7 separate regions of the Homo sapiens genome follow, and all the other regions are linked to region 6. The links are contacts of gene promoters, found by promoter capture Hi-C in blood cells and fetal thymus (Javierre and others, 2016). All regions are on one chromosome and are shown on one strand. The core of a region is centred on a gene start or on the middle of the fragment in contact, and the rest is flanking DNA. Distances in the headings are between cores, read along the strand shown. Region 1 overlaps EMSY (EMSY transcriptional repressor, BRCA2 interacting). Region 2 overlaps LOC105369392 (a long non-coding RNA gene). Region 3 has its middle 6.3 kb from the start of LRRC32. Region 4 overlaps UVRAG (UV radiation resistance associated). Region 5 overlaps UVRAG (UV radiation resistance associated). Region 6 holds the start of WNT11 (Wnt family member 11). Region 7 overlaps EMSY (EMSY transcriptional repressor, BRCA2 interacting).

Region 1 (2,700 bases), core at 1-2,500, 320 kb before region 6:
TCCTGAGCCTCAAATTCCAAGGCAAATTTTCAGAAAAGTTCCCTTATCTTCTATTGGTTAAAAAATAAATACAACTCTAGCTTATCTATTGTTCAAGGGTTCAAGCAAAGCTAATTTTATAAGTAAATAAAATGCTTTTGAAGGCCATGGTAGCTTATAAAAAGTAAATATTTTTCTTTGAGTGATTCTGAATGACTATGATCCTCCCTCAACCACCCCCCTCAAATCACAAAATACACCTTCAGCAAATTGTATTCCTAGGTAATTATTTCCCCATAATCTTTGCTGATAGCACAACATACACATTTAGGTATCTTTAAGAAAGTACTGAAAAGATAAATGAAGTTTTGACAATACTTGAATAATTAACACATTCAAACATAACTTTTAACAATCTGATTTCTTAAAGATTGCTGATCTTTTCCTTCAAATTTCTACCCGGGAATTATAAGAATTGAAAATATTTAAGAGCCAAGAAAAATCATCATATCTTATAGCATACCTGCGTTTTCCCTTGCTGCCCATAAACAATTTTTGTTGGGATGATTTTAGCTGCTGGTTGAACTGTAGAACCTATTCCTTTTGGCTGCGTTACAATCATTTTGGTGATGGGTCTTGTAGCAGTAAGGATAGCTGGCTTTGCTCCTGTTGGCACTGTCTGAATAGTCTTTTCTCCCTAAATTGAAGTCAATGATTATATAAGAGATTTATATGCATATAAATGATAAAGTCCTCTCACTGAAAAATCAGTAAGGTTTTACCAGGATGATGAAAAAAGGGCTGTAGATTATGTAACAAAGTATAATGTTTCCAGGAAATCAAAAATCGTAGACTTGGTTGAAATGATATAGAAAGTCATCTGACCAACTTTCTACCCAAAGAAGGAATTAATTATTCTCTGATGAGCGAATTTTAAAAAATTACCACATGCAAAAATACTTATTACACTATCCCATTAATGGAATACATATATTATAATAGTCAGAAAATTCTGGAAGAAGGTATAGTACACTGCTAATGCTTGTCTCTAAGAATTGGGATTATAAGTCTTAACCCCCACATACATATTTATTTTCTAATTTATCTGAAATAAGTATTTGTGTAATTAGAAAATTACTGTGCAATATACCAGTAGCTAAATGCACACACATAAAATACATCCCCTAAGTTCTACATATATGAAATTATAAGGATATATAGTAGAATGTCTACATGAAAAAGTATGGGCAAGCAAAATCAGCAGAGGTATTAACATTCTTTCTAAGGTTATATATAGGAAAAATTTGATGAACATATGCCATGAGGAAAGAATGTTATATATTGTTAATAATATATAAGGTTACATATAGAAAAAAAGGAAGGGAAAACTCAGAGTGCTTCCTATGTTTTACTATTCATATATTACTAATATCCTTTTAGTCTATTAACTAGATAGCTTATATCCATTAACTTTTCATCATTTTCTATACTTTCATCTACTTTATTCTTAAGTACCATTTTCTGGTCACTCATGAAATCAACATCTTTTTACATGAACTTAACTAAATTAAGTTCAAATACAGTGACTTTACTAAATTATTAAAATTTTTAAAATTAAAATCCATAAACTTAAGATGGAAATGAAAAGATTTGAGAATTTTCACCTCATCAGTTTTTCTTAATTTTTAGCCAGCATCATCTAAACGTGTGCCTATCTAAACTTAGCAGCCAGTAAAAACAAAGCACCCACGTGAGCTGGCTAAAAAGCAATCATTGTGAATTCAGAGCTAAATATAATTACAAAAATCACAATTTTAACTATCTGCTGTAATTACTTAAGGGAAACATGAAGCATCTGCCAATGGTGTTATTACTTATTTCAACACATGCATACTCTTCCCAGCACCATCTCTGGAAAGAGCTCTAGTTCATTTGCCAAGAGCCACTAGTTTGCAAGTGACCACACCTATCTATTAAATAGCTCAATGGACCCTGGCCAAGTATGACCCATTCAAGCCAAACAAAACCAACTAGCAGCCTGTTTTTCAAAAAAGCTCTTCTGATGTGTGTTGTGGGCATGCATAGGTGAGCAAGTGGTGAGTAGAGGTGATTGTGCCTATGTGGTCTTTGGCGGGGGTGGCAGTGGCAGAGTCTTGCTCTGTCACCCAGGCTGGAGTACAGTGGCAAGATCTCAGCTCACTGCAACCTCTGCCTCCCAGGCTCAAGTGATCCTCCACCTCAGCCTCCCAAGTAGCTGGGACTATAGGTGCACACCTTCACGCTAATTTTTGTAATTTTGTAGATACGGAGTTTCACCATGTTGCTCAGGCTGGTCTCAAACTCTTGGGCTCAAGTGATCCACCTGCCTTGCCTTCCCAAATTGCTGGGATTACAGGCATAAGCCTCCACACCCAGCCCAGAAAACGGTCTTATACGTTGATTTGCTTGTTTTACTAGAGCTGCCTGTGTCAAACGGTTGTTATCAGAGATATCTAACAGCTATGAATCATACATGACTCTTGGATCTTTGTGACCACAGGGCCTAGAATACAAAGCATCCCCTCTTACATATCAAGTTCTTTGAAATTGCAAACCATATTACAAAGGGTTCTGAAAATCTGAATTCTAATCCTGGCTTTACTTTTGGCTTACTATGTAAATTCAGGCTAGGAGCAATCTGTTTTCCCACACATTGAAAAAATCTAATGCTGGACCCCTACC
Region 2 (2,700 bases), core at 106-2,605, 490 kb after region 6:
GGTCTTGATCTCCTGACTTCAAGTGATTCACCCTCCTCAGCCTCCCAAAGTGCTGGGATAACAGGCGTGAACCACCGCGCCCAGCCCTAGCTTGTCTTTTAAGATGTCCTTTGATGAACAAACATTTTTTCAATATGTCATATTTTCCAGTCTTTTATAAAATACACATTGTTTGGTTGGATCTAGGAAATCTTGTCTTACTTATACATTTCATTAAAAATTTTGAAGTTTTGTTTTTTATATGTAAGTCCTAATTCATCTGGATGTTTAGATAGTATGAGTTAGGTTCCAATCTGAGCTTTTGACATGTGGATAAGCATTTTTTTTCAGTCTCTTTGTTGAACACTCCCTCCGTTCCCCACGATATGTTATGCCACCTCTGTCATGTGAGACAGTTCTACGGATGCGTGGTCCGTGTATGGGCTTTTATTCTCTCCTGTTTGTCCTCTTATCTATCTCTGCCAGCACCACACTGTTTTTAAGAGCCCTCAGCTAAATTAGAGTTCCGGTACCGGAGCAGCTAGCAACACTGCCTGAGCGGGGTGGGGTTTTACAGTATGTTTTCCATAGGATACTCCCTTTACCTGGGGGACAGCCTAATGCCTAGTTGTCCGACCCACAACCAGGGAGTCCCTCACACAGGAAGCTTGTTTATAGTGGCAGATGCTCTGGATTCAGAAAAGGTTGTGTAAAAAAAGTTAAAAAGAAAAGGAAAATACATTGGCAGATGCCCTGATGGTTCTTATCAGATCTGTGTCCAATTTATGTCTGCCTGACCATTACTTGGACTCTGGGAGCCATCGGGGTAGTCTCTGGTTCTTCAGATAGAGGGTGCAAATTTAATACACCCCACAATAAAAAATATGTTCACTAACTTATTACTTATGAATCCTGGACAGGGAGGGTGCCGTGAGTCACGAAGGCAGTGCTCCATCCTGGGGTCATGAATGCAAAGTCAGGCAGAGAGAGAGAGAGAGAAACCCCACAACTAGTGGTAGATATAAGGGAATGGGGTGTAAGTCACTTAAAGTTTGCAGGCAAATACCTGAATTGTCCCTTTAAAGGAATCAGTGGCAAAGCAGAAAGCCCATTGGGCTGGGCTGGAGAGATGCCTCTAAGTTCTGAACTCTGGCCCCCCGTTTGAGACATTTGGGTGTGCCAGTCTATTTCTATGACTAGACAGCAACCTTTTCTGTGTGTTCCTGTTACAACTGACCCTGTGATGCCTGGGCATATGACCTTGTGTTTGGTGACGACTACTGCTTAAATAGTGGAGACATTGAAGGCTACTGGAGAAATGTGGGCCAGGCATGGAGCAAGGCATTTGATGAGCATCACTGAACACACAAACAATGTGGAGGCACCACTGTGACCTTAAACTCCACTCACAGGCATCCACTCCACTGTGTGGGGTTGAGCCAAGTGAATAGAGCAACCCTTCACCTAGGGCAAAGTAGGAAGGTTGTTGTGAACCCGGGTAAGGTTATAAAATACTTGTTATCTGTTGTGCCATTGCTTCTAGATTGGCTTTCACCAGGCTAGAGTTTTGTTGAGGTATAGAGCTGTGTGGCAGTGTACCTTTGAGCAGAGAGCAAGGAGTATACCAAGATCAGGAGCTAAGCAGGCAGTCAGTACAGAAAGAAAAGCAAAACTACACACTGTCCATTTGTGTGTTAGCAGAGCCAGTCCATGGGCATCACTGGAGTAGAGGTTTAGTGTAAGAAGTGAAGCCGTCTGTGGCACCAGGGGCAAAGCTATCTCCAACATCAAGGTCTTGGGTTCAGATGTGTCATCTGAGGCAATGTCACCTTCAGAGGTGAATTATAAGGCAAAGGTAATGTCATCTGAGATGTGGGACAGGTGTGTCCTTTTCATGGGGACCTACTCGAGTTAACGTGGGCCTCAGCACTTGTCATAATTGCTGAGGTTAAAACGGTGGTCTGCTGAAGGTTTTGGGCCTCTGATTGTAACCAGTGAAGCAGGCAAGGCAGTAGTGATAAGACCAACCAACAACAGGACAGTGTGCGGCTGCACCTGACAGGGTTTGTTTTGCGTGGAAGCTTGGGTTCAAATGGGTCCCCTATCAGAGGGGCAGCTAGCTGCCTGATCTAAGGAACAATCTATGGTTATGAGTCCCAGGAGTATATGCATCTTTAATCTGGCCCCTAACCCTTGAGGGATGGGGGAGAGATTGAAATTTATAAAGAATAGGTTAAGACCTGGGGTAAACTCAAGATCTTTAGTGTATTTATTGTATTGGAATTTGAAAAGAAGTTGTTTGAGGACATCATTAGAGCAACCATTGGGACCTATCAGGGACATGAAGTTTATATTGGATGCCTCCTCTGGAAGCCCAGCATAGTGGTGTATTCTAAGGAGTGAAATGTGTGCCTTCATAGCTATTAGTAATGTCTCTAACTCTGAAAGAAACAAGCAGTGAACTAGCAAGGCCTTGCAACATGGAGTTATGTGATTTTGATTTATAATTTGATGTCTGTGAAATAAGAGATTCCCGGGGTTTATTTGCTTTTTACCTTGATGGGAACAATTTTTAGGTAATGGCCCAATAATTAATAATGAATGTGAAGATGAGACCATTTGTTAGCCAGGACAGCCAGGGCTAGGATGACTTCCTGAAGTTTGACCAAGTGTGTTTTTTCTTGGGTCCTGTCCTTCATCATCCTGGCTAAGGGATGGAAA
Region 3 (2,700 bases), core at 176-2,675, 470 kb before region 6:
ACTCCATCTTGCTGCCATGTGGGGCCTGAGTGGATGAGCGGGAAAAGAGATCCTGGGCCAGGAAGCAGCCCTGGGGAAAGGGCCAGGGGAGAAAACGCCAGGCCGAAGAGGGAGTGAGAGCCGGGAGCTTCCACCTTTAGAAATCAGGTGGAGGAGGAAGAGAAGGGCCCGCAGCAGGATCCTGAAGGAGATGCAAGAGAGGAGAGAGGAGGGCCAGGAGGGGGTGTTCCAAGGTGCCACGGGAAGAAGGCCATTAAAGGAGGAGGGGAAGCTGTGAAGAACATAGCCAAGGGACGTGGACACTGTCCCTCGGTCCGGCCACAGCAGTTCTGCCATGGATGTGCTTGCTGGAATGAGGGGCTGGAGACAGGTGGAGAGTGGAGGCAATGGAGGCAGCAAGAGTGGCTTTCTTGCAGGTAGCTCCCTTGTGGGTCTGGCTAGGAGGAGATGAGAGGAGGGGGCCACAGCTGAAGGGAACCTGGAAGACCCAGAAGGGGCTTGTGAAACAGGGGCGTGTACAAGAGGGCTTGCCCAGAATGTTCCCCAGGAGGCAGGTGCTGCCTCTGCCAGCAGGAAGCACAGCCCATCCACCAGGAGGCCAGGTGGTCACTGATGCCAGCAGAGGCAAGTTTGGTTTTGGGAGTCAGGTTCAGGCCTCAAATCCGGGTCTCCTGACCCCAGCACCACAGGAGAGAAAAACCAGCAAGCAGGCTGAAGTCACACAGCCTAGAAGAGGTCAGGGAGTGGCAGCCCTGAGGCCACATAACCCCTTTTTAAGCTTCCAGACCTTCAGAGGGATTGGCTTGGGGACAAGGCCTGGCATCCATCCCTCAGGAGACAGGATGCAGTACTCTGCATTCTGAAGCCCCAGCCCAGCTCCCAGGGCCTGAAGCTCACAGCATCCCAGCTGGATTAATTATGAGATTCCTGGGAGGCCAAAGGAGTCTGTCTGACTAATTTAGCCCAAACTATGTCCTTTCCCCTCCTTTCCTTTTTCACTTCAGGAAACCAGCCCTAGTGGAAGCCACTTGACTTATGTGTGGTCTGCTTCTGAGAAAAATCAGAGTCACAAGCCACGCGAGATGACAGCCTAGTTCCCATGACCATGTGCACCTGTGCCTGTGTGTACAGGCATGCTCACGTGTGTGCGTGTGTGCACGTCCATGCACACAGACGAGAGGCTTATCTGTGCTCTCTGCTGTGTGTGCACTGGGTTTGGGGAGCCTTGGTATTTTAAGTCTTTATTGTACATACTGGATGTGAGCTGTGTTTGTGTGCAATGTGTCTGGTATGTTTGTGAGTGTGGTGTTCGTGTAGGATGTATGGATATAGTGTGTGTACACGGTGTATGCTCAATGTACATGTTTGTGTTGTGTTTTGCACATGTGTTTAATTGAGAGTTGGATTTGTGCAGGATGTATGTAACCATGTGTGGTGACTGTGTGACTTTTGAGGGCGTCTCTGAAATGTCTGAATGTTTGTGAATCGTGTGTGTGCCTACGTGAAATTCGTGTATGAGGTCGATGCATGCTTGTTGCTTTCGTGAGTCGTGGCCCTGTGCATCTCATGTTGCCTCTGAGGGTGCATATGAAGGATGTGTGTGTGGCTGTGGCTGGGCTGTTGTTGCAGGTGCACTATGTCTGTGGGGCGAGTGCATGTGGCTCTCATCAGCAGGTGGAAAAATGTCATAGGGGAAGGGGGTGAAAATCCAATGTAGCAGAGAGGGCAGCCCCCTCTTGCCTCCTCCTTGCCCCTGTAGAGCCTCAGCTTCCCCTCAATGGATAATACTTGAAGGACTCTAGGAAGATCCTATGGTCATGAGGAAGCTGGCAACATGACTAGGACAAGATGGGGGCTCTGTGACCTGTGCCTAAGAAGACCCTGTCCCAGTGACAACTGGGTGTGCCCAGGCCTTCGCCCCCTCACTTGCCCCTTGAGGGCTTCCACCTGCCCCCCTGAGGAACGCTGTACCCTCATGCTGCCTACCCATACTGTCCCTGAGGGGCAGCCACAGCTACATTCTAGGCAGGTTTCCTCCCTACATCCCCTGACCACAGCCAGGGAAAGCTTGAAAACCACTTCTCTCTCCCTGAAACAAACCAGCACAAAGACCATAGCTGCTGCCAAAACCCTCAAATGCTGACCGGGGCAGGGAGCACCGCAAGCTGTGCCATTGACTGGTGAGGAACAGCTTAATACAAACGCACTCACCCTTCAAACTGCCCTAGTGGTCCATTGTCCATGGCTGCCCTCACTCTACTGGGTTCAGAGGTGAGGCCACCAGCCCAAAGTTACACAGCAGTGAGTGGCGCAGCGAGGATGGGAATGCGGGTGGGTCTCTCTCCTAAACCCAGGTTGCTTCTCTTCCTCCGTTCTGCCCTTCTCAGTCCCCTCCTCACCCCACCTAAGATGGGAGGGGGAACACAACTACACACAGAATGTTTAGATAATTTGCTCTTTGGGCTCATTAATGCTCCTTCAAGTGACGAAATGATCGAGTATTCAGTGGGTAGGCGCTGGAGCCCCACTGCCTGGACTCACCTGTACTGGCTGTGCAAGCTTAAGTTAATTACTCATCCTTGCTGCATTTCCTCATGTGTCATCTGCAAAATGGAGCTGCTGCTAATAATAATAATAATAATAATAATATCTACCTTCTTGGGTGTAGTTAAGGATTGAATGGCTTGCAATATGACAGCT
Region 4 (2,700 bases), core at 106-2,605, 320 kb after region 6:
TAAGCAACAGCATTTCAGACAACCAAGAGCTATGAAGCAACATGATCACTAAGAGCAAATAATGCACAGGGTTGTTGGGTAGAACACCATAGTAGAATAGAAAAAGCACAGGCTTTAGAGGCAGGCAACCTGAAATTTCAGCTCAGCTACTTTCTAGATGGGTGAACCTACGAAGCTCATCTCAAACAACTTTTTTCCTTAACTATAAAATGGAGAGGACAAAACAAACCACATTGGTTTTGGCTAGTATTAAGTGAGGAAAAGGACAAGAATCACCTGGCACAGTACCATAGATAGTAGGTACTTGGTAAATGTGAATTCGCTTCCCTTTCCTTTCTCTAATAACTTTTAGATGTAGAGATAATGCTGACTATAAAACAACCGATTCATAGTTTCTTAAATGTATTGAAAGTTATAAAAGATATCTGAAACATTTCATAAAACTGTATTGCATTTAATCAAAATTCACCATCCTTTCTTAACCCCCAAAGAGTTATGTAGAATAAGAGAAAACAGCTAGCTCCAGATTTCCTGTAGAAAAATTAATATAATCTGGATTTAGAAAAGATGGACTGGATGGTTATGTGCCTTACAGAATGAGTTTTCCCATTAAAAAGCATCCACCTTAAGCCACACTAAGCAACAAATTTAAAGCATGATTCTATTTACACAGAGTTTTCAGGATTATATCTACCCTGTACACCTGCAAGGCACACCTGCACTAAACAAAATTCATAACATTAGAAGGATCTTCTTACCTTATGTTCAAATGGAGCACCATAGTATCCATCATTCAGCCCAAAAATTATTTCATTTTGGTTTCGGGCATGAATCTAAGAGAGGAGGAAAATACAGTATTTGTTATTTTTATTCCGATCATGTTTTAATACAACCAGAGAATGACAGTTACAACAGGATCTACTTCAATACTGAGAAACCGGCTGACTACATCTAAACATACTAGCAGAAAACCAATCACTATTCAAAAGACCAGGTGATCAATTCAGCATTTCCTGCTTTAGTCAAAGGCCTTGCAAAACTATCACATGCAATCACAGGCACCATCACTCACATATCTTTCACAAACATTTCTTGAGGTTGTTATGGAATGGCTATTCCTGAACAATAGGGTATTCAGAGGCATATTCTACCCTCTCTAACCCCAAAGAAAACACAATTTATTAATTCTAAAAGTATTTTTTTTTAACATGAAGCCTAGGCCTGGCACAGTAGCTCACGCCTATATTCCCAGCACTTTGGGAGGCAGAGATGGGCAGATAGCTTAAGCTCAGGAGTTCAAGACCAGCCTGGGCAACATAGCAAGACCTCTTCTCTACAAATAACAATAACAATAAAAAATATTAGCCGGGCATGATGGTGCACGCCTGTGGTCCCAGCTACTCGGGAGGCTGTGGTGGGAGGACTGCCGGAGCCTGAGTGGTCAAGGCTTCAGTGAGCCATGATCACACCACTGCACTCCAGCATGGGTGAGGGAGCACAACCTCGTCTTAAAAATAAGAAAAAAAATGAAGCCCTAGAAAAACATAAAAGATTAATATATTCTATTTTCAAAAAGGCAATTTTTAAAAAAGCAATAGTATCCAATCCCTAAAGTCTTAAATGTCTGCAAACCACTCTCTTTTATTACTGTCTGCAAACCACTCTCTTCTATTATTGTCTGCAAACCACTCTATTTCAGATGAGGTGAGCTGCAGTCATTGCATCCCAAATTAAACTTCATTTAAAAGGTGGAAGAATAAAACTTTAAAAATTAAGGAACTGAGGCCAGACACCGGTAGCCTGTAATCCCAGCACTTTGGGAGGCCGAAGCGGGCGGATCACTTGAGGTGAGAAATTCGAGACCAGCCTGGCCAACATGGCGAAACCCCGTCTCTACTAAAAATACAAAACTTGGGGCCCGGCGCAGTGGCTCATGCCTATAATCCCAGCACTTTGGGAGGCCAAGGCGGGTGGATCACGAGGTCAGGAGATCGAGACCATCCTGGGTAACACGGTGAAACCCCGTCTCTACTAAAAATACAAAAAATTAGCTGGGCGTGGTAGCGGGCGCCTGCAGTCCCAGCTACTCGGGAGGCTGAGGCAGGAGAATGGCATGAACCCGGGAGGCAGAGCTTGCAGAGAGCCGAGATTGTGCCACTGCACTCCAGCCTGGGAGACAGAGCGAGACTCCGTCTCAAAAAAAAAAAAAAAAACCTGCGCCAGGCACGCTGGTTCAAGCCTGTAATCCCAGCACTTCGGGAGGCCAAGGCGGCGGATCACTTGAGGTCAGCAGTTTGTGACCAGCCTGGCCAACATGGTGAAACCCCGTGCCTACTAAAAACACAAAATTTAGCCGGGCATGGTGGCGGGCGCCTGTAATCCCAGCTACTCGGGAGGCTGAGGCAGGAGAATCGCTTGTACCCGGGAGGCGGAAGTTGCAGTGAGCCGAGAGCACGCCGCTGCACTCCAGCCTGGGCGACCAAGCAAGACCTTGTCTCAAAAAAAAAGAAAGAAAGAAAAAGAAATTAGCTGGGCGTGGCAGTGCACATCTGTAATTCCAGCTACTAGGGAGGCTGAGTGAGGCAGGAGAATTGTTTGAACCCGGGAGGCGGAGCTTGCAGTGAGCCGAGATCACGCCACTGCACTCCAGCCTGGGCGACAGAGCGAGACTCCGTCTCAAAAAAAAAAAACAAAATTAAG
Region 5 (2,700 bases), core at 75-2,574, 300 kb after region 6:
TGGCACGCGCTTGTAATCCCAGCTACTCGGGAGGCTGGAGGCAGGAGAATCACTTGAACCCAGGAGGCAGAGATTGAAGTGAGCTGAGATCACGCCACTGCACTCCAGCCTGGGCAACAGAGTGAGACTCTATCTCCAAACAAACAAACAAACAAAAAAACCCACTATAAAGCTAAAAAAAACCTATAGAACTATTAGAAGAAAACACAGGGGTTTATATAACCTTGGATTTACCAATCTATTCTTAGATATGATATAAAAAGCATTAGTACAAAAAAATCAGTAAATTATACTTCATTAAAATCAAAAACTTTTGTGCATCAAAGGACACTATCAATTAAGTAGAAAAAGAACCCAACAGAATGGGAGAAAATATTTACAAATTGTATATCTGACAGAGGTCTAATTTCCAGATGATATAAAGAACTCATACATTCAACAGCAAAAAGACAACTCAATTTTAAAATGGGCAAAGAACTGCAAGAGACATTTCTCCAAATAAAGACATACAAATAGCATAACAAACAAACAGAAGATAGTGAGGATGTGGAGAAATGAGAACCCTCACATATTGCTATTAGGAATGTATTGGTCAGCCACGGTAAAAAAAAAAAAGTTTAGCAGTTCCTCAAAAAGGTAATCATAGAATTATAATATGACCCAGCAATTTCACTCCTAGGTACATACCCAAAAGACTGAAAACAGGGACTCAAACAAACAGTTGTACACAAATGTTCACAGCAGCACTATTCACAACAGTCAAAAAAAGAGAAACAACACAAATGTCTATCAACAGACATGAATAAACAAAATGTGTGTGTGTGTGTCTCTGTGTGTGTACACATGCAATAGAATATTACTCAGCCCTAAAAAGGAATGAAGTACATTCCTTCCTACATGTAGATGCAACACCAAAACATTACACTAAGTGAAAAAAGCCAGAACAAAAGGTCACATACTACATAATTCAATTTGTATGAAATACCCAAAATAGGTAAATCCATAGAGATGGAAAACAAACTGGTGTTTGCCAGGGGTTTGGAGGACAGCAAAATAGAAAGTGAGCACTTCATAGGTACAAAGTTTAATTTGGGGATTATGAAAATGTTTTGCAACTTGACAGAGATGGTGGTACACAACACTGTGAATGTACCCAGAGCCACTGAATTGCACACTTCAAAACAGTTAATTTATGTTACATTAATTTCACTTCAATTTTAAAAAATGGATGCTAAGAAATAATCAATACATTTTAAGAGGAGATGAGGAGAAAAAGGACAGAGGAGACAGTCTTATAAATCAGCAACAAAATCCAAATAATAGAAGACTTGAGAAGTAGATTTAAGATTCTCAGGAGAAATAATTAATGATGTTCTACTTAGCTTTTCTTATTTTACGGAAAAAGCTGCCAAATATTTTTTCTTACTATAAAAAATTTATCCACACCCACCGACATACAACTAAAAGCCACACTTTATAACAGGGAAAGAACATTCAACTGAAAGCTAGAATCCTGGGTTTTAATCTACTCTGCCTATCGCATAAGTAAGGAAAATAATTTAACTCTCCTAGGCCTCAGTTTCTTTAATTATAAAATGAGATGCAACTACTACTAATAAAAACAGTAATAAAAAATAACAGCAATATAAAAAGTAATGTTTACATGCATTTACAGTGTGGCAGGCAGTATTGTATTTTACATGTCAACGTTAGCTGTTAATATGTTAAATGTTAACACATTTAATACTCACAAACCCCTGTGAAACAGGTGCTATTAATATCCCCACTTTAAAGGTGTGGAAACTGAGACACAAAGAGGATTAAAGAGAAGAGCCATGCAGTCTGGCTCCACAGCCCGTGTTCTTAAGAACCAGGCTATACTTGATGATCTCTAGGACCTTTTCCAATTCTAAAAATTCTGAGTCCATGTACATTTAAGGCAATTTAAGGACATTATTAAGCCCTCCTGTTTCAGCCATCACTTAGCAATTAACATTCTTGAAATATGCTAAGAGCCTTGTTCTGAATGACATCTAACTTCACCAGATGTTCGATCCCAACAGACTTCTGATGAAGGATTATAATGGAAAGAAACGGCTCATTTGTATCTGGTTATCTGTGTGAGATACTGCCAAGTGCCAAAGAGCCCAGAAGAGATTTACATGTCACTCAAAATTCTTCTGAAGTCAGGCCTAACAATTCTTCAAGGAACAGAATAGTAACAAGTCTGGGTGAGTGCCTATTAAACTGCTCAGGGAAATAGATAATTTAACATATCCAATGAGCAGGAGTAATTCCAGGCAAGTCAGGTGTATTTCTAGATGAGTGGTCAGCAAACTTTTTCCATAAAGGGCCACATAGTAAATGTTTTAGGCTTTGCAGGCCACATGTCATTTCTGTCACATAGTCTTATTTTTTCTTTAAAATTCTTTAAAAATGTAAAATCATTCTTAGTCGCAAGCTATACAAAAATATGTGCTGGACTACAGTTTGCTTATCCCTGTACTAGTTCATTGGATGAGTCACGTTTTAAAACATGTTACTATATATTTTGAGAGTTTTTAGCTGCAACAACACAAGACTGTCCTTAACTTCATTAAAACTACAAAATGTATACAGAAATAACGCAGTTAGTAGGATAACTGATTAGGAAGCAAATAGCATTATACATATACTTATTCCTTTCAGTGTTTACTGAAC
Region 6 (2,700 bases), core at 120-2,619:
TGGGAAGGGAGTTAATGAGGTGAGAATGAAGTGAAGGAGAAAAAAAGCGGAGATAGCTGCTCCGCGGGCTGCGGGCGGGCGGGGCAGCCTCTCCTCCGCGGCCCGAGGGCGCCGCCTGGAGGCCAGAGGCAACACCGCGCCAGCCCCGCGAGCTTCCCCGCTTCGCTAAGGCGGGGCTGCCCAGTCCCAGCCCGCATGCTTCCACTCCCACCCTCCAAAGTGGAGCGGCTAAAGACGGACTTGGAGACTCGGAATCCTCACTGTACAAAGAGCCCTACCATCCCGTTTCCCATCCTCCCCTTCCCACACCGAGAAAGCAGGGCCCCGAGCAAGCCCCATTTCCTGATTTCGCCGGACACCCGGCTTGCCGCTCCCTAGCTGAACCCCACCTCTGTGCCTCAGTTTCCTCATCTGTGAGATGAGGCAGCGATAGTGCCTATCTCACGGGGTGCTGGGAGGAGCAGATGCGATCGTGTTAGGGAACTTTTTTTGTTTGTCTGTTTGTTTGAGACGGAGTTTCGCTCTTGTCGCCCAGGCTAGAGTGCAGTGGCGCAATCTCCGCTCGCTGCAACCTCCGCCTCCCGGGTTCAAGCGGTTCTCCTGCCTCAGCCTCCCGAGTAGCTGGGATTACAGGCGCCCGCCACCACGCCCGGCTAATTTTTTGTATTCGTAGTAGAGACGGGGTTTTGCCATGTTGGGCAGGCTGGTCTCGAGCTCCTGACCTCAGGTGACCCGCCCGCCTCGACCTCCCAAAGTGCTGGGATTACAGGCGTGAGCCACCCTGCCCGGCCAGGGAACGTTCTTTATAAAAGCGGAATTGTGCCCGAATTGCCCCAGCTTACTGAGGAGGTAAACTGAAACACGTTTGGGAAGGAGAATTGCCGAGGCCCTATTAACTAATGCTCAATATTGCAGGGATAAGCCCCAGCTCCGGGTCCTCGACTCTGCTGCCTCGCCTGGACTCCTGATTCCTCATTCCTCTCCTTTCCGTCCCAGGTTGCGTCTGTCCGGGTTTCCCCCTCTGTCTCCGTGGCTCTCAGCCTTGTCCTCTGAGCGTCCTTCTCCCTCTCGCTGTGTCTGCCCGGTCTCTCCTGGGTCTCCGGTTCTGCCGCCTCCTGTCCCTCCTTCCGGCTGCCCCGGCCAGAGGGGCTCGAAGGCGCGTTGGGGCCCGGGGCCACGCTGGGAGACACGCCTTCGGCCGCGCCTAATTCGAGCCAGGCGCGGGACGCGTCCCCCGGCCGGGCGGAGCGGGAGGGGACGCCCGCCGCGCTCGGCCTCCCCGGGCCCCGACCCCTCCTTTGTAATTTGAATAAAACGCCTCCCCCGCCCGCGCGCCGCCTTAACCCGCCGCCTCCGCTCTCCCCGGCTGCAGGCGGCGTGCAGGACCAGCGGCGGCCGTGCAGGCGGAGGACTTCGGCGCGGCTCCTCCTGGGTGTGACCCCGGGCGCGCCCGCCGCGCGACGATGAGGGCGCGGCCGCAGGTCTGCGAGGCGCTGCTCTTCGCCCTGGCGCTCCAGACCGGCGTGTGCTATGGCATCAAGTGGCTGTGAGTAGGGACCCCGCGTCCACGCGCACAGGCCAGGGACTGGGGCGGCGGAGGGCGTTTTGGGGTCCCCTGGATGGGGCGAGCGCACCAAGACCCGGGAGCCTAAGCTGGCTTGGCGGTCGTGGGCAAGTCATCCCTCAGCCTCTGTTTCCTCCTCTGTAAAATGTCCCTGCCTCCCGCAGGCTTGCGAAAAGGGAGTGAGACGGGCGTGGACCACAATGGAAGCGCCTGGTCCTGTGCAGCTGACGGTGGCGCAAGGGCCACGGAGTTTCTGGCCACCTCCGCAGGGGCAGATGGAAAAAGACATTCTGTTCAGGGGGCGCAATCCAGAGCGGCCAGCCCAGGAGCGGTCCTTGTCCGTCAGTCTCCTTGACCCTAGCGGGAGTTCCGCTGAGACACTCCTGACCCCTCCACCTGGGCGACCTTGGGAAAGTGTCACTCTACTTCTTGGGGCCTCCTTGTCCTCCTCTGTCACGGGAGGGTGAGACTCCCCACCTCCCTCAAATCAGATGAGAAGAGGCTCCTGAAAGGACCTCAGAAGCTGTCAGATGCCACTGTGCACATGTGCAGGGCATTCCTTTAGATAGAAATTATTCACGCAGGGGTAGGAGGGAGAGAGAGGCTTGGTGCCGAGCTGAAGGGAGTGCCTGCTCAGGGGGCTGGGGGTGGTGAAGAGAGGAGTAAACACCAGCCCCTTCCCGGAGGAGCTGCGCTCTAAGTTGAGAGAGATAAGCCCAGGCTGTAAATAACTCCACAAGTGTCCAAGTGCCCGAGGAGAAACCAGAGCGGGAATCTGGAGGCCTAGAGGAAGGAAGCCCACCTGGTGGGGACACAGATGTGAGACACCGGGAAGCTTTTCCGAGGCTGTGCCTCTGGTGACTGAAGCGCTGCTGGGAGTTGGCTGGTTCGGGCAATGGAGAGGACGCTGTGGGCAGAGGGGCTCCCTGAGAGGGAAAGTCCAGGACAGGACAAGGGTCTGGAATCTGGGGCCAGGGCAGGGAGCCTGCAGATAAGACAGCAGGGGGCAGGTTGTGGGGGCTGGGGAGGGCGCTGCAAAGGGTTTGTGAATTAGTTGGAAGACAGGGTGATAGTGGCTGCGCCGCCAGCAAACAGTCTGGAGGTCACTGGCCCTGCCCCTTCTCAGGCCAAGTTAT
Region 7 (2,700 bases), core at 86-2,585, 300 kb before region 6:
CCCCGACTCTGTGAGCACTCAGTGCGTAAAGCAGGGGTCTGTCAGAGAAGTCTGTCACTTACCCCACCCTAGATACTTCCTATTTCTGCAAGGTTCCAGTTTCTAAGGTCTGTATCAATGGCATTTTTATTTGTGAATCAATTATTACATTATACTATATTAATTAATTTTAGGCAAGGTCTTGCTGTGTCACCCAAGGTAGAGTGCAATGGTGTGATCATGGCTCACTGCCTTGATCTTCTAGGCTCAAGCAATCCTCTTGCCCCAACCTTCAGAGTAGCTGGGAATACAAGCATATGCCACCACACTCAGCTAATTTTACTATTTTTGTAGAGATAGGGTCTTGCTTTATAGTCCAGGGTGATCTTGAACTCTGGCTTCAAGCAGTCCCCCTGCCTTGGCCTCCCAAAGATCTGGGATTACAGGCATGAGCCACCAAACACAGCCAGTTTATTAATTTTTTTATTAGAGACAGCGTCTTGTTCTGTCACCCAGGCTGAAGTGCGGTGGCATGATGACTGTAACCTTGAACTCCTGAGCTAAAGCAATTCTCCCATCTCAGAATCCCAAAGCACTGAGATTATAGGCATGAGCCACTGCACCTGGTCTATATTTTATTTTTTTGAATAGAGAAAGCATTCATTAAAAACTGACCAGTATAAAAAGTTAGAGTGAATAACTTGTCCTCTTTCCTTGTCCTCTGTCTAGTTCTCCCTTGCCATTAACAAAAGCTTAGTTTCTTATATATTGTCAGAGTCTCCACAAATACAAGAAAATTTAAATATGGATTCTTATACCTCCCCTCTTTACACACTTGTAAAACATAACACATGCACCTTGCTTTCCCCCCCACCTTTAACAATGTATCTTAGAGATCTTTTTAATATAGTCAGTACATAAAATTAAATTGCTTCTTCATTCTACAGTGATACAGGTATACCTTGTTTTATTACACTTTGCTTTATTGTGCTTCTCAGTACTAGTGTGTTTTTTTGTTTGTCTGTTTGTTTTTGTTTTTTGTTTTTTTGAGACGGAGTCTCGCTCTGTTACCCAGGCTGGAGTGCAGTGGTGCAATCTTGGTTCACTGCAACCTCCACTTCCTGGGTTCAAGCAATTCTCCCTGCCTCAGCCTCCCGAGTAGCGGGATTATAGGCACCCACCAACACACCTGGTTTATTTTTGTATTTTTAGTAGAGACAGGGTTTCATCATGTTGGCCAGGCTGGTCTCGAACTCCTGACCTCCGGTGATCTGCACTCCTTGGCCTCCCAAAGTGTTTTTTACAAATTGAAGGTTCTGGCAACCCCACGTCGAGTAAGTCTATAGGCACCATTTTTCCAACAGTGTGCGCTCACATTATGTCTGTGTCACATTTTGATGATTCTCACAATAATTCAAAGTTTTTTTTTATTATTATATCTGTTACTTTAATCGGTGATCAGTGATCTTTGATGTTACTATTATAATTGTTTTGGGCCACCACAAACCATGCTCGTGTAAGATGATGTACTTAATCAATAAATGTTGTGTGTGCTCTGACTGCTTCACGAACTGGACATTCTCCCATCTCTCTCCCTCTCCTTGGGCCTGCTTGTTTCCAAAGACACAATGATACTGAAATTAGGCCAGTTAATAAACTTCATTTCTATGAAGGCCAGGAGAGTGAGGAATCTGCAGAAGAAAAGTTGGAAGCTAGCAGAGGTTGGTTCATGCGGTTTAAGGAAAGAAACCATCTACAGAATGTCAAAGTGCAAAACAAAACAGCAAGTGCTGACGGAGAAGCTGTAGCAAGTTATCCAGTAGATCTACCTAAGATCATTGATGAAGGTGGCTACACTAAACACCAGATTTTCAATGTAGACAAAATAGACTTTTATTGGAAGAAGATGCCATCTAGGACTTTCATAGATAAAGAAGTCAATGCCTGGCTTCAAAGCTTCAAAGAACAGACTGACTCTCTTGTTAGGGACTAATGCAGTTGCTGAGTTTAAGTTGAAGCTGATGTTCATTTACCATTCGCAAAATGCTAGGGTCCTTAAAAAGGATGCTAAATCTACTCTGCCTGTGCTCTATAAATGAAACAACAAAGCCTGGATGACACCACATCTGTTCACAGCATGGTTTACTGAAGGTTTTAAGCCCACTATTGAGACCTACTGCTCATAAAAAAAAAAAAAGATTCCTTTCAAAATATTACTACCCACTGACAATGCACCTAGTCACCCAAGAGCTCTGATGGAGATATACAAGATTAATATTGTTTTCATGCCTGCTAACATAACATCCGTTGTGCAGGCCATGAAACAAGGAATAATTTCAACTTTCAGGTCTTATTAAGAAATAAATTTTAGGCTGGGTGTGGTGGCTCATGCCTGCAGTCCCAGCACTTTGGGAGGCTGTGGCAGGTGGATTGTTTGAGCCCAGGAGTTTGAGACCAGTCTGGGCAACATGGTGAGACCCTGTCTCTACAAAAATTTTTTTAAAAAAATTAGCCAGGCATGCTATGGCTCATGCCTGTAGTCTCAGCTACTTGGGAGGCTGAGGTGGGAGGACTGCTTGAGCCAGGAGGTTGAGGCTGCAGTGAACTATGATTGTGTCACTGCATTCCAGCCTGGCTGACAGACTATGTCTCAAAAAAAAGAAAAAAAAAAAAAAGAAAAAGAAAAAGAAAAAGAAAAAAAAATGCATTTTGTAAGGCTAC

The links. Contacts are between HindIII fragments. The CHiCAGO score rates a contact against its expected background, and 5 or more counts as called.
Region 1: a fragment that was not itself captured here is called in contact with the fragment with the promoter of WNT11 in region 6 in 1 of 17 cell types (megakaryocytes); the score reaches 5.4 in megakaryocytes.
Region 2: a contact is called between a fragment that was not itself captured here and the fragment with the promoter of WNT11 in region 6, in 1 of 17 cell types (endothelial precursors). The highest score is 5.2, in endothelial precursors.
Region 3: a contact is called between a fragment that was not itself captured here and the fragment with the promoter of WNT11 in region 6, in 1 of 17 cell types (fetal thymus). The highest score is 6.6, in fetal thymus.
Region 4: a contact is called between a fragment that was not itself captured here and the fragment with the promoter of WNT11 in region 6, in 1 of 17 cell types (megakaryocytes). The highest score is 7.1, in megakaryocytes.
Region 5: a fragment that was not itself captured here is called in contact with the fragment with the promoter of WNT11 in region 6 in 1 of 17 cell types (megakaryocytes); the score reaches 6.1 in megakaryocytes.
Region 7: a contact is called between a fragment that was not itself captured here and the fragment with the promoter of WNT11 in region 6, in 2 of 17 cell types (megakaryocytes and M2 macrophages). The highest score is 7.5, in megakaryocytes.

What each region holds. Positions count from the first base shown.
Region 1 is chr11:76,524,438-76,527,137 of GRCh38, reverse strand. EMSY (EMSY transcriptional repressor, BRCA2 interacting) reads right to left here. Exons shown (of 22, transcript NM_001300942.2): 14 at 503-676. Among named protein-coding and RNA genes, the nearest start is that of EMSY, 81 kb to the right of the region's middle. The HindIII fragment of the contact is 2,918 bases long and covers 1-2,700 here.
Region 2 is chr11:75,712,182-75,714,881 of GRCh38, reverse strand. The region is part of intron 1 of LOC105369392 (a long non-coding RNA gene); the gene reads left to right. Among named protein-coding and RNA genes, the nearest start is that of MOGAT2, 4.3 kb to the left of the region's middle. The HindIII fragment of the contact is 1,414 bases long and covers 649-2,062 here.
Region 3 is chr11:76,675,745-76,678,444 of GRCh38, reverse strand. No RefSeq gene overlaps it. Among named protein-coding and RNA genes, the nearest start is that of LRRC32, 6.3 kb to the right of the region's middle. The HindIII fragment of the contact is 1,289 bases long and covers 781-2,069 here.
Region 4 is chr11:75,886,962-75,889,661 of GRCh38, reverse strand. UVRAG (UV radiation resistance associated) reads right to left here. Exons shown (of 15, transcript NM_003369.4): 5 at 759-833. Among named protein-coding and RNA genes, the nearest start is that of UVRAG, 73 kb to the right of the region's middle. RefSeq lists an enhancer at 2,621-2,670. The HindIII fragment of the contact is 5,797 bases long and covers 1-2,700 here.
Region 5 is chr11:75,903,801-75,906,500 of GRCh38, reverse strand. All of the region lies in intron 5 of UVRAG (UV radiation resistance associated), which reads right to left. Among named protein-coding and RNA genes, the nearest start is that of UVRAG, 90 kb to the right of the region's middle. The HindIII fragment of the contact is 6,083 bases long and covers 1-2,700 here.
Region 6 is chr11:76,205,171-76,207,870 of GRCh38, reverse strand. WNT11 (Wnt family member 11) reads left to right here and starts at 1,369. Exons shown (of 5, transcript NM_004626.3): 1 at 1,369-1,546. The coding sequence starts at 1,464. RefSeq lists silencers at 17-236, 1,217-1,456 and an enhancer at 245-912. The HindIII fragment of the contact is 7,460 bases long and covers 1-2,401 here.
Region 7 is chr11:76,507,820-76,510,519 of GRCh38, reverse strand. All of the region lies in intron 10 of EMSY (EMSY transcriptional repressor, BRCA2 interacting), which reads right to left. Among named protein-coding and RNA genes, the nearest start is that of EMSY, 64 kb to the right of the region's middle. The HindIII fragment of the contact is 1,204 bases long and covers 734-1,937 here.